Linked DNA regions of Homo sapiens: regions 1, 2 and 3 are each linked to region 4. Evidence: promoter capture Hi-C in 16 types of primary human blood cells and fetal thymus (Javierre and others, 2016). All regions are on one chromosome and are shown on one strand. The core of a region is centred on a gene start or on the middle of the fragment in contact, and the rest is flanking DNA. Distances in the headings are between cores, read along the strand shown. Region 1 holds the start of WFDC6 (WAP four-disulfide core domain 6). Region 2 holds the start of WFDC13 (WAP four-disulfide core domain 13). Region 3 holds the start of SPINT3 (serine peptidase inhibitor, Kunitz type 3). Region 4 holds the start of SEMG2 (semenogelin 2).

Region 1 (3,117 bases), core at 255-2,754, 320 kb after region 4:
AACATTTCTTTCCACGGCTGAACGGGCAACACTTCATGTTTTCTGGGCAATCTCTGGGTTTGGTACACTGGTCTATTTCTTCCACTTCGCATTCCACTTTGATTTTGGGACACGGCTCTAAGGGAGGGGAAGATATATTCCCTCAAGGCCTTAAAGGAGCCAGTGCTCCCCCTCCCCGAGACCAGGGCACCCCTCCAGAGTTAGAGAACTTTGTTTCCACTTCACCTATCCCCAGAAGGTAGTGGCCCTCAGGGGGCTCAGGAATTTCACAACACTGCTCACATCCCCAACCCCATAACAACTCACCATCGGATGCCTAAACCAACCCCTACCCCCTACCCGCACCATCTATGAGATTCCTGAGAGAAAGACGCATTCCTCTAAGACTGTTCTGGTCACTCAGCCTTGCTGTGCTTGGTTGCTCCCCCAGGAGGTGCTGTGGCTCTCGATGATTGAGATTAACATTTCTGGCATCAGATAGCTGGGCTTTTGAATTCTGTGAGACGCTTGGTGTGCCAGGCACTCTCTCTGAGCCTTGATTTCCTCATTTGCCCATAGGGTTGCTTTGAAGACTAACCAGCAACACAGTTTGACAAGCCATCGTCAAACTGCCTGGGGCAATGTAACGTAACAATGAGTAATATGGATGAAGCACTTACTGTGAGCTGCCTTTTCTCCTTAATCCTCATTACAAATCTATGGGTAAGTACTCTTAATATTCACATTTTGTAAACAGAAGAATTGGAAGCATAAGGAGATTATGTGAATTTGCCCAAGATCACACAGCTACTCAGGGGTGGAGCCAGGTTTGAACCTACAATGTGTGGCTCCTGAGTGCTCACTTTCAACCACTAATTTTCAGTGCCCAGTACAGTTAGCTGCTAATTGTGAGTCTTCACATTTCAGCATTCCAAGGGACTTCTGGAGACCATTCTTTAACCCAAAGACCAGGGTCCTCTGTGGGTATGGGTGTGGGGGCTGCAATGAGAACATTTGGAAGTTGACACAGGTGGTGTTGTGGGGAGCAGCCTGTTTTTCTTGTGGGAGACTTCCTTGGGCTTACTACTCCTTCTTAGTTCATTTCATGAGCTCTAGGTCCAGGCACCTCCAGGAAGAACTCTTTGGAATGGCAGCAAGGAGTCACTTGCCACAGATTTGGATGCCTGTATTCACCAAGGGAGTCTCTTACCAAGAGACTTCAAATAGCTCCCCTCTTTCCCACCTGGAATTCCAGGCAGAGGTGGAGAAAATAATTTCTCAGCTGCAAAATTATTCTTTGTTCCTTCCTCCCCACTGAGTTTCCTTTCCCCATTGCAAGGACGGAGTTCCCAATACTTACTGCCAAGGATGCCTTCAGCGTGCCCAGGTTCCTGGATGTCCCCCAAAAGGATGAATGGTACCAGGATTGGCAGAAGTCCTGAGAGTCCCATTTTAGGAAGTACTGGCCTGGTTGATGGCACCAAAACTAAGAACTGCTCCTCAGCAGCTCCTACATCTGCACTTTGCCTGCCCCGGTGTGGCCCAGCACCTTAAGAGACAGCCCTGGAGACAAGCCAGCCAGACTCCCCGATCAGGAACACCAGATCCCTGAGGCCATCAGTGGGACTACCTGGTACCTACACTGGGGGATAGGTGGCTCCTAATCCTCAGCAATCTGAGGCTTTCTGGTCTACCAGGGAAAGAGGGCACATGTTGTCTTGGGCTTTCCAGGCTCCCTTAGCAGAAGGGGAGGTTTAACTCCAGAGTCTTCCATTTCCCAGGGGGAGTTTGCAGGTTAACAGTATGCTAGCTCTCTTCCTTCTTTCTAATTTCACTCTTCTCCTGACATGTCTATTCTTATGTTTTATTTTTCTCACTCTGTTTCTTCTCTTTTCTGTGCATCTGTATGTCTTTTACTCTGTGCCTGTCTTTTTCTCAGGGAGTCTCTGTCTGTCTGAGTCTCTTTCTCCCCGCCCTTCACTTCCCTCTCTCTTCTTTCGTATGTAAAGATCAGTTACATTTATCCTTTAAGTCGTTTGATTTTGCAACAGTAAATAACTTCTTTCATTACTTTGGGACTTCTCCAACTCTGTTCTCCGTTTTTCCCTGTTGTCACAGCTACAGCATTGGATTAAAAGTCACACCCTGAAGCATTAACGCTTGAGCATCTGTACCAAGTTTTATATCCTTGGTATAAGCCCGAAGGAGGTGAGGAGCCAGTTACCTGGGCATCAGTTCCATCTGGCAAAGGACTGTGGGTAATGGAAGCATTTCTGCAGGGTGGCAGCAGGGTGTGTGTGCAGCAAGGCATGTCATCAGTGGTGAGTGAGAAGTTCATTCCTTTTTATGGCCGAATAATAGCCAATGCACATTGACAGCCTCCTACCTCTAGCATCAGTCCCTAATTTTCTGCTGTGGGTTTTCTCTGGCCCCCAGGGAGCTTGTATAGCTTGCAAGTATAACAGTTTGAAAGAGCGAGGGATTTAGTATCCCTGGCATCCAGTGGGCGTTGGGAATCAGTGGACAAATAGCTTAGCTTTCCCATCACTGGAGACAGATTAAGAAAATTTGTGGTCTGATATCCAGAATCTACAAGGAACTTAAACAAATTTACAAGAAAAAAAACAAACAACCCCATTGAAAAGTGGGCAAAGGACATGAACAGACACTTCTCAAAAGAAGACATTTATGCGGCCAACAAACATATGAAAAAAAGCTCAACACCAGTGATCATCAGAGAAATGCAAATCAAAACCACAATGAGATACCATCTCATGCCAGTCAGAATGGTGATTATTAAAAAGTCCAGAAACAACAGATGCTGGTAAAGCTGTGGAGAAACATGAATGCTTTTACACTGTTGGGAATGTAAATTGGTTCAACCATTGTGGAAGAGAGTGTGCCAATTCCTGAAAGATCTAGAACCAGAAATACCATTTGACCCAGCAATCCCATTACTGGGTATACACTCAAAGGAATATAAATCATTCTTTTATAAAGATACATGCATGTGTATGTTCACTGCAGCACTATTTACAATAGCAAAAACATGGAATCAAACCAAATATCCATCAACGATAGGCTGGATAAAGAAAATGTGGTACATATATGCCATGGAATACTATGCAGCCATAAAAA
Region 2 (3,352 bases), core at 1-2,500, 480 kb after region 4:
ACTTACATATGATGTACTCAAGGGCCTAGCGAGCACAGTGAGGCATTAAAAATGGCATAAAGTTTGAAGAAGAAAACTATAACTGCTTATTTGCCTATGATAAACACTGAAGAGAACACACAAAGAAACCATAATAAACAATGGGAGAATTTAGCAAGCTAACTAGTTACAAATTTGTGGAAAGAAGAAAAGATCCAAGCTTTAAAGAGAGGAAAGCAAGTTTGAAATAGTATTTGTAGAAAGTGGGAACACTGGCTTACTGAAGAAACTTAGTAAGATTGCCAGACCCTTTTTGGTTTGGTGATGGTGCATCTATTGTGCTGTTTAGTAGCCCAGTTGAGTTATTTTCCCCCAGCAACAATTATCTGCCTAGGTTCAAGCTTCAATGAAATTGATGGTTGGATTCATTCAGGGTTGCAGTTTTTGTAGGTAGATTCAAGCAAGGAGATTTAAATGACAGGTTCTGAGTCCTACATTGATAGAAAGAAAAGTAAACGCCTATAGGGGAGGACTACGAAATAGGGAAGTGAAGAGTCAATGTTTATTGGTTTCAGTGAGGTCAAATAATTGTCATGGTGGAGATTTTTGAGCAAACTGGAAAGTTAACTTCTCTACATTAGCAGTAAACAAAAGGAATTAGTTGAAAAGTTATGATAACATTTACAATTTCCTTTTAAAAACTTCAAGCCTCAGACCAGGCGCGGTGGCTCACACCTGTAATCCTAGCACTTTGAGAGGCTGAGGAGGGCAGATCACCTGAGGTCAGGAGTTCAAGACTAGCCTGGATAACACAGTGAAACCCCATCTCTACTAAAAATACAAAAATTAGCTGGACATGGTGGTACACGCCTGTAATCCCAGCAACTCAGGAGTCTGAGACACAAGAATTGCTTGAACCTGGGAGGAAGAGGCTGCAGTGAGCAGAGATCGCACCACTGCACTCCAGCCTGGGTGACAGAGCCAGACTCCATCATCTCAAAAAAAAAAAAAAAAAATTCAATCCTCTGTGAATAAATATAACATGTACAATTTCCACAGGGGAAAATTATAAAAAAATGTTAAGGGACATGAATAAGATCTAGATACAGATGAAAGAGATAGCAAGGTCAAGATTAGGGGAATAAAGGAGGATATGAAAACACTACGTGACCCTGGAGTGGGTGTGATTGGGAGGTGCTTGGATTCCTGCCCTGCCGGTTTTGATTGGAGTACACGGTGAAAGGCTAGTCACACTGGGCCTCCACTTTGCCCTCTTTCCTTCTCTTCTCCTCACAGCAGTGCCTGGTCAAACCCAGCAACCCTTGGCCAGAACTTACTCACCCATCCCACTGACACCATGAAGCCTGTGCTGCCTCTCCAGTTCCTGGTGGTGTTCTGCCTAGCACTGCAGCTGGTGCCTGGGAGTCCCAAGCAGCGTGTTCTGAGTAGGTGCTGGATCTGGGCCCAAGGAGGGAAGTAACATGTGTGGATAGGAGAGGATCTGAGGGCTGACAGTCTGTCACACCTCTTGGAAAAATACCGTGTCATGTTCAAGGGCCCAAGCTTTATTGTTGGCAAGATCTAGGTTTGAATCCCTGCTCTGTTGCTGAGTGACCTTGGGCATAGTATCTGGGCCTCAGGTTTTTATCCTTATAATGAATACAGGAGGAGAACAGATAATGCATGCAGACATAGCTCACTCTTACTAAACCATGGTAAATGCTCAGTAATATTAAATGCTGTAAATGTGATCAGCCTCATCATCCAGCTTAGTCTTGCTGCCCGTGGCTCCTTCATGGATGCTTGGACTCACTTTTCAAGCAATAAAACAGAGAGACAACGAAGTTGGTAGAACTCAAGCTAGAATCTACATAACCTTGGCCTTGGAGGATGTTTTGGGAAGGAGGGAAAGGAAGTCTTGCCTTTTATTCCACATTTTCAAACTCCAGAGGTACTGTACAATTACCGGTAATTAGCATCAATGGGACAGTGTAGAGTCCATCTCAGCAGCCACCACTGCCCAGCTCAACTCAAAAGAGCTCTGGCTCTAGTAATGTTGACCTTAACCAATACCAAGTGGGAAAAGAACTGTTATTCATCATACATCCACTCTTCTATGGGGAAAACATCTTCAGAATACTGGCGGCTCAGAAGAGGGATAAGTGTGGTAGCTCATGTGTCTGGGGAGGCTAGGTCCTGCTTAAGAAGTTTCAGAAAAGGCATGCAGGTTTGTAGGACTAAGAGGGACTAAGCAAGCTACAAGAAAATAGGAGTGCCCAGGGTAGAGTTAATTGGAGAATCAGAATTTGAGGAAAGGCACAAAGAGGCTTTCTAAAAGACTGGTAAATGCTGTGAGTGAAGTTGGGACCAGATACCCAGAAGAGGGGTCAAGACTTGAAAAGGGTGACCTCTCTGAGATCTCTGGATCATGGTGTCTATCTCTAAACTGCTCTGTTGAGCCCCAAGCTCTTCAAAGTGTGGATTAGTTCCAATTTCTTGCAGTGCCCCAGTGAGCTATAGAATAGCTGAGAGGCCAGGGGTGAGTACTAGTTATTGGTCTCTGTTAAATTGTCAACAGCTTGAACCTCAGCTTCTTTTACCCCAATTCTGGTGCCATTTGCTACTACAGTTATAGTCATGACCTCTTTCTTCATTCATTCCTTTCAAATCATCATAATATCCTATAGATTTCCTTCTAATTGCAAATATTTGCAGAGGAATAGACCCACAATTCCTCTATTTGCAATAGAATGCCCCACTTTTGACTTTTGCCCCCAAAGAAAGGGAGAATCACAAGGTACAAAAATTAGGACCTGGAAGGGCTTGGGGAAAGGGATTAATGGGGCCCATCTTTAGAGTCCAGGAATAGAAAGGAGATTGTGGGTTGTGGACTTAGGGAAGACTCTCCCAGGGCAGGTAGGTCTTAGCTTTGAACTGAAATACTTGGGGGTAGGGGAGGAAATAGGAAGTCAACATAATGATGCTTATTCTTCTCTAACAGTAGAAAGTGGGGCATCCTGGTGCTCTGGCCTCCTGATCGAGAGACACCAAGGAAGAAAAAAGCTGAATCTTTGAACGCCATTCTGAAATCCCCACCCTTCTTACCATGAAAGAAGTCACTCCCAGAACTTACTTGTGAATTGGGTCCCAGCTCTCTGATCCAGTACCTTCAGTTTAATGCATGGTCTTCATCCTTTACCAAAACTTACCTTTCACTCATTCTTCCTGTACACAAATAACCCATGTTAGGTTAACCCCAGGGTAAACTATGTTGTTAATGAGAAGCTCTACAACTTGCTCAAGACCACACAATGAATCAGTGCAGAACGAACATACAAACCTCTTTCTTGTTCACCACATACACCATTGATAC
Region 3 (3,017 bases), core at 109-2,608, 290 kb after region 4:
AGTAGATAATGACACCCTGTGTGTGTGTTTTGAGTGTGACAGAAGCTGTTCTAAGTGCTTTACAAGAATCTATTAAGAGCTAAGTTATACTGAGAGCTTGACATACATCAGACTATTTGATTAATAAAGCAGAAAAGATGGTTAATCTTTTTTTATAGAAGAAGAAACTGATGCTCAGAGAGGCTATAAATGATGTTCCTGAGGCACAGAGTTTGTAAGTAGAGGAGCCTGGACCAGAACCCAGGTGTGTCTGACTCCAGGAATGCTCATACTGTAAACCACTACATTCTTCTTACTTATGGCAGACATTTTCAAACTTGAGTATGCGTCAGAATCATCTAGAAGGCTTGTTAGAGAGACCCACCTCCACAGTTTCTGATCAGGTGGGACTGGGAACTAGCATGTTTCCAGTTGATACTGCTGCTGCTATTGCTGTCAGACTAGGGGACAAACTCGAGAACCACTCATCTATAAGGTTATTGGGAGGTTTAGAGTTCCATTTATGTCTAAGAATCTATCATTAATAGCTCCATGTACATACATGCAGAGAACTATGCTTGCACATGCAAGAATGTTCACTGGCACATTGACAGTGATAATCTCCAGAGGGTAAGATTTTGATAATTTTTCACCTTCTTTCTTACCCTTTTGTGTATTCTAATATGCATTTTTATACAGGGCATCCTACTGGCTGCTTAAAAATCTTGGAAACTGCTGCCTACCATCCCCATTTCCAGCAGATTATCTTAGCTATAACTGCACTTCATCTCCCCACTTCCATTTGCAGATTCCAAGCTTCCACAGAGAAAGTGGTCCAGGAAGGAGCCTTTTCTGACAAGTGCATCTAACTTGGCTAAGTCCCTCACTCTCAAATTCTGGCTCTGATCTCCTTTTCCCAACCTCTCCTTGCCTGCCACCAGCCCCACCCCAGACATTGAAGGCCCCTTTTCCTGCTTTACTTATTTCATTTTCTATAGCACTTTGATCATCTATCATTTGTATTAGGTATTGTATGTCTCTCTCCCATTAGCATCTTAATTTCACAAAGGCAGGGTCTCAGGCTCTTTGCTTTAACCTCAGCACCTAGGACAGTGCCTGGCACATAACTATGTGCCCAACATATGTCTGATGAAGTGAATTGAACTGAATTGACTCTCAATCCGGTAAGGTAAGAAATGGGCTCTGTTTGTGCTGCATCACCTCCCCCACCACCCCGCCCCCCAGCCTGATTCCCAGTCTATTCTTTGAGATCCCACATTTCATACCAACCTCGTGCTAGTTCTGATCGAAGCTCTAGGCAGAGAGTGAGAATCAGGAGAAACGAGAGAGAGGCCTGAAGCTGCATGGTGCCACTCAGCCAGTGGCTCAGCCTGGGGTTGCCATTTTAGGGAGAAAAGGGACCAAGGGGAGGAGCCTGGCCCCACATCCAGCTCATTCACCTTTAACTCAGGCTTTTCATGGGGCTGGGCTGCCTCAGGAACAGAGTGTTCAGCCAAAGCACAGCTTCACCTCTCTCCTCCTGGCCTTATCTGATCTGGCCACCCAGGCTACTTTAGTACCACTTCAGGGTGGAAGCCTTTTTCACAATAATAAAAAGACAGCAGCCATTTTTGAGTACCTTTCCTTTTCCAGGCACCATGCAAAATAGTTTTCACACATTGCTTCCCTTAAGTCTACACGGGAATCCCACAACACTAACACTCCCATTTTGTAGATGAGAGGAGGTTATGCTACTTTGACCATTGTTACATGGACAGCAAGTTTCAGAGACAAGACTGAGACCCCGGTCTGTCTGCTTCAGTGCCCTCGTATCACTCATTCATTCAACAAACATTCATCAAGTACCCACACTGCACCAGGCAAAGTATTAGATGCTGCCTCCATCCCATCTGGGTGCTCCCAGGAAATTATGGCAACAACACACACAAACACATTGGAAGTCAGAAACAGTCACCTACTTGGAGGAGGAGCAGATTCATTATATTTTAATAGAAATATCAAAAGCACCATGTAGAAGGAGGGCCCAGCTTTGTTTGCTTCAGAGGGTCATGGTCTCTAGAGACACACCCCCAGAATCCAGCACATTCCAACTGTCTCCTTTCCTTGACTCTCTAGAGATCCATTTTTTTTGAAAGACAAAGCCAGCATGCTTTAGGGAGATTTAGTGAGCCTCAGATTTAAAATTTGAGGTTGTGATGGGTCCAGCTATTCTTTTTCAAGAAGCATTCTATCATATATTTATTATTATTTATTTTTAATTGAGAAATAAAAATTGTATAAAGGCAGTCCCCAATTTACAATGGTTTGACTTACAGTGTTTGACTTTATGATGGTGCAAACACAATGCACAGTCAGTAAAAACAGTACTTGGAATACCCATACAACCATTCTGTGTTCACTTTTAGAACAGTATTCAATAAATTACATTAGATATTCAACACTTCATTATAAAAGGGGCTTTGTGTTAGATGATTTTGCCCAACTGTAGACTAGTATAAGTGTTCTGAGCAAGTTTAAGGTAGGTAAGGCTAAGCTATGATGTTTGGTAGGTTAGGTGTATTAAATGCATTTCAACTTCTGATATCTTCAACTTAGGCTAGGTTTATTAGGCTATAATCTCATCATAAGTTGAGAAACATTATATATTTATGAGGTACAATATGATGTTTTGAAATATATGTGTGTATATATATATAGAGAGAGAGAGAAATTTTCTCTCTTAGCAATTTTCAAGTGTACAATATGTTATTAACTACGGTCACCATGCTGTGCAATAGGTCTTTACAACTTATTCCGTCTGTCTAACTGAAATTTTGTACCCTTTGACCAGCACCTTCCCAATACTTCCCACCCCCAGCCCCGGGTATCCACCATTCTACTCTCTGCTTCTGTGACTTCAACTTTTTTAGATTCCACATGTAAGTGAGATCACCTGGTATTTGTCTTTCTGTCCCTGGCTTATTTCACGTAACCTGCAGGTTCATCCACGTTGTCACAAATGGTAGGATTTCCTTCTT
Region 4 (3,324 bases), core at 121-2,620:
CTCTACTAAAAATACAAAAAATTAGCCGGGCGTGGTGGCAGGCACCTGTAGTCCCAGCTACTTGGGAAGCTGAGGCAGGAGAATGGCATGAACCTGGGAGGCACAGCTTGCAGTGAGCCGAGATGGTGCCACTGCACTCCAGCCTGGGCGACAGAGCGAGACTCTGTCTCAAAAACAAACAAACAAAAAAAACAAAACAAACAAACAAACAAACAAAAAACCTTCCTTGGATTTTTCAAGAAGTTTTCACAATTGCAAAAAAACAAAACAAAACAACACAACACAACAAAACAAAACAAAAGCAAAAAAACCCTATGCTTCCACCCAAGGTAAAAATTTTAGCTTTAGGTCCACTCTCAATACATTATTTAATGAACTGAAGTTGGCAAATATTCCTCACAGCCTGTTGGAGGGTTCAGCAGTTTATTACAGAAGTATGAAATGCTTTTATTTAAAAAATGTATTTTGGTAAATACATTTTTGTTTAGGTAAATATCATCAAATAATCCAATTTGGAAACCAACATTCTTACTTCTTTTTCCAACAGTTGTTCCTATCATCATAAAAACATGTTAAATTTTTCTCATCCTTTCAAAAAATCTCTGGAGCTTACCTCACCCTCCAGATACAGCCTCACCTCTCATTCCACCATGAAATCAGACTTCTTGAGATGGTTTCAGCTGGACTCCATCCTTCAACTGACAACCCAACACAACTGTATTCATCTCTCGTTAACATTACTAGCAGTGAGTAACATCAGAAAGTTTTTGACACATGTTAGTCTTTTTTGTGATGAACTTCACAGATACATTTGACATTGGTATGCCTCATTTATTTGTTGAAATTTTTTTCTTTGGCTTCCATGAAGTTTCTTTCTCTTCTGTATCATTCTACTTCTATGACTGCTCCTTCTCGAGTAAAACAGAATGTGTCTCAGGATTACTTTAAAACAAGACAAAGTATAGAGTTATACCTAAAATTTAGTATTTAAGTTATTGGATCAGAAAGGAAACTCGCATTTAGAGTATGAAGGCATTGTCAGCCACCAATTACTTTTGTAACCTGAAGCTAGTCTCCTTCCTACTCCGGACTGAATTTCTTCTGTATAATGCAAGCGATCTGGCATGATGATATACAAAGACCGATAAAATTTTGCTGGGGATTCTGAAAGTAAAAAAAATTGCCTTTGATATTATGTCCCCATGCTAAGTCCCTGGGGACTTTGACATTATCCCCCACTGAGCAGGGGTGAGGAAGCTGGCATTTACTAATAAGCTATGAAAGGGCAGTGCCTTTTGACATTTCAGCTCCACCCATAGCACACCCACTCAAGGAACATATAAATGAAGAGATCCGCTCAGTTCTCAGACAAGATTTTTCAAGCAAGATGAAGTCCATCATCCTCTTTGTCCTTTCCCTGCTCCTTATCTTGGAGAAGCAAGCAGCTGTGATGGGACAAAAAGGTGAGTGGAGAGGGTAAGCCTTGGGGAAAGCTACTTTAAAAAAATGGCCTCTAAGGATATTCAGGGTGCAAACAGTAACCTGTTCAGGCACAGATTCTTCTCCTTGATGAGAATTGATTTTTCTCCACCCAACGCTGTAGGCTTTTGGAAATATCAGAAATTTGTTGGGAAAAGGTGGGAGGTAAGAGTTGCAAGAGAGCTTTGGAGATAATGAATGCATACATTTCTATTATCAATTACCAGGTGGATCAAAAGGCCAATTGCCAAGCGGATCTTCCCAATTTCCACATGGACAAAAGGGCCAGCACTATTTTGGACAAAAAGACCAACAACATACTAAATCCAAAGGCAGTTTTTCTATTCAACACACATATCATGTAGACATCAATGATCATGACTGGACCCGAAAAAGTCAGCAATATGATTTGAATGCCCTACATAAGGCGACAAAATCAAAACAACACCTAGGTGGAAGTCAACAACTGCTCAATTATAAACAAGAAGGCAGAGACCATGATAAATCAAAAGGTCATTTTCACATGATAGTTATACATCATAAAGGAGGCCAAGCTCATCATGGGACACAAAATCCTTCTCAAGATCAGGGGAATAGCCCATCTGGAAAGGGATTATCCAGTCAATGTTCAAACACAGAAAAAAGGCTATGGGTTCATGGACTAAGTAAAGAACAAGCTTCAGCCTCTGGTGCACAAAAAGGTAGAACACAAGGTGGATCCCAAAGCAGTTATGTTCTCCAAACTGAAGAACTAGTAGTTAACAAACAACAACGTGAGACTAAAAATTCTCATCAAAATAAAGGGCATTACCAAAATGTGGTTGACGTGAGAGAGGAACATTCAAGTAAACTACAAACTTCACTCCATCCTGCACATCAAGACAGACTCCAACATGGACCCAAAGACATTTTTACTACCCAAGATGAGCTCCTAGTATATAACAAGAATCAACACCAGACAAAAAATCTCAGTCAAGATCAAGAGCATGGCCGGAAGGCACATAAAATATCATACCCGTCTTCACGTACAGAAGAAAGACAACTTCACCATGGAGAAAAGAGTGTACAGAAAGATGTATCCAAAGGCAGCATTTCTATCCAAACTGAAGAGAAAATACATGGCAAGTCTCAAAACCAGGTAACAATTCATAGTCAAGATCAAGAGCATGGCCATAAGGAAAATAAAATATCATACCAATCTTCAAGTACAGAAGAAAGACATCTCAACTGTGGAGAAAAGGGCATCCAGAAAGGTGTATCCAAAGGCAGTATTTCGATCCAAACTGAAGAGCAAATACATGGCAAGTCTCAAAACCAGGTAAGAATTCCTAGTCAAGCTCAAGAGTATGGCCATAAGGAAAATAAAATATCATACCAATCTTCGAGTACAGAAGAAAGACGTCTCAACAGTGGAGAAAAGGATGTACAGAAAGGTGTATCCAAAGGCAGTATTTCTATCCAAACTGAAGAGAAAATACATGGCAAGTCTCAAAACCAGGTAACAATTCCTAGTCAAGATCAAGAGCATGGCCATAAGGAAAATAAAATGTCATACCAATCTTCAAGTACAGAAGAAAGACGACTCAACTATGGAGGAAAGAGCACGCAGAAAGATGTATCCCAAAGCAGTATTTCTTTCCAAATTGAAAAGCTAGTAGAAGGCAAGTCTCAAATCCAGACACCAAATCCTAATCAAGATCAATGGTCTGGCCAAAATGCAAAAGGAAAGTCTGGTCAATCTGCAGATAGCAAACAAGACCTACTCAGTCATGAACAAAAAGGCAGATACAAACAGGAATCCAGTGAGTCACATAATATTGTAATTACTGAGCATGAGGTTGCCCA

What was found. Contacts are between HindIII fragments. The CHiCAGO score rates a contact against its expected background, and 5 or more counts as called.
Region 1: the fragment with the promoter of WFDC6 here is called in contact with the fragment with the promoter of SEMG2 in region 4 in 3 of 17 cell types (M2 macrophages, erythroblasts and total CD4 T cells); the score reaches 8.2 in M2 macrophages.
Region 2: the fragment with the promoter of WFDC13 here is called in contact with the fragment with the promoter of SEMG2 in region 4 in 16 of 17 cell types (M2 macrophages, endothelial precursors, M0 macrophages and 13 more); the score reaches 19.6 in M2 macrophages.
Region 3: the fragment with the promoter of SPINT3 here is called in contact with the fragment with the promoter of SEMG2 in region 4 in 5 of 17 cell types (M2 macrophages, M0 macrophages, erythroblasts and 2 more); the score reaches 7.8 in M2 macrophages.

Annotation. Positions count from the first base shown.
Region 1 is chr20:45,537,978-45,541,094 of GRCh38, forward strand. It overlaps WFDC6 (WAP four-disulfide core domain 6), which reads right to left and starts at 1,505. Exons shown (of 3, transcript NM_080827.2): 1 at 1,340-1,505; 2 at 1-117. The coding sequence starts at 1,430. EPPIN-WFDC6 (EPPIN-WFDC6 readthrough) reads right to left here. Exons shown (of 5, transcript NM_001198986.2): 4 at 1-117. EPPIN (epididymal peptidase inhibitor) reads right to left here. Exons shown (of 4, transcript NM_020398.4): 4 at 2,649-3,117. LOC107987282 (a long non-coding RNA gene) reads left to right here. Exons shown (of 4, transcript XR_001754641.3): 3 at 559-702; 4 at 2,098-2,410. It also overlaps the pseudogene HSPD1P21. The HindIII fragment of the contact is 26,653 bases long and covers 1-3,117 here.
Region 2 is chr20:45,700,788-45,704,139 of GRCh38, forward strand. It overlaps WFDC13 (WAP four-disulfide core domain 13), which reads left to right and starts at 1,251. Exons shown (of 4, transcript NM_172005.2): 1 at 1,251-1,424. The coding sequence starts at 1,337. All of the region lies in intron 2 of WFDC10B (WAP four-disulfide core domain 10B), which reads right to left. The HindIII fragment of the contact is 1,162 bases long and covers 379-1,540 here.
Region 3 is chr20:45,514,264-45,517,280 of GRCh38, forward strand. SPINT3 (serine peptidase inhibitor, Kunitz type 3) reads right to left here and starts at 1,359. Exons shown (of 2, transcript NM_006652.2): 1 at 1,270-1,359. The coding sequence starts at 1,345. The region is part of intron 1 of LOC107987282 (a long non-coding RNA gene); the gene reads left to right. The HindIII fragment of the contact is 7,076 bases long and covers 794-3,017 here.
Region 4 is chr20:45,220,003-45,223,326 of GRCh38, forward strand. It overlaps SEMG2 (semenogelin 2), which reads left to right and starts at 1,371. Exons shown (of 3, transcript NM_003008.3): 1 at 1,371-1,463; 2 at 1,707-3,324. The coding sequence starts at 1,388. The HindIII fragment of the contact is 11,661 bases long and covers 1-2,154 here.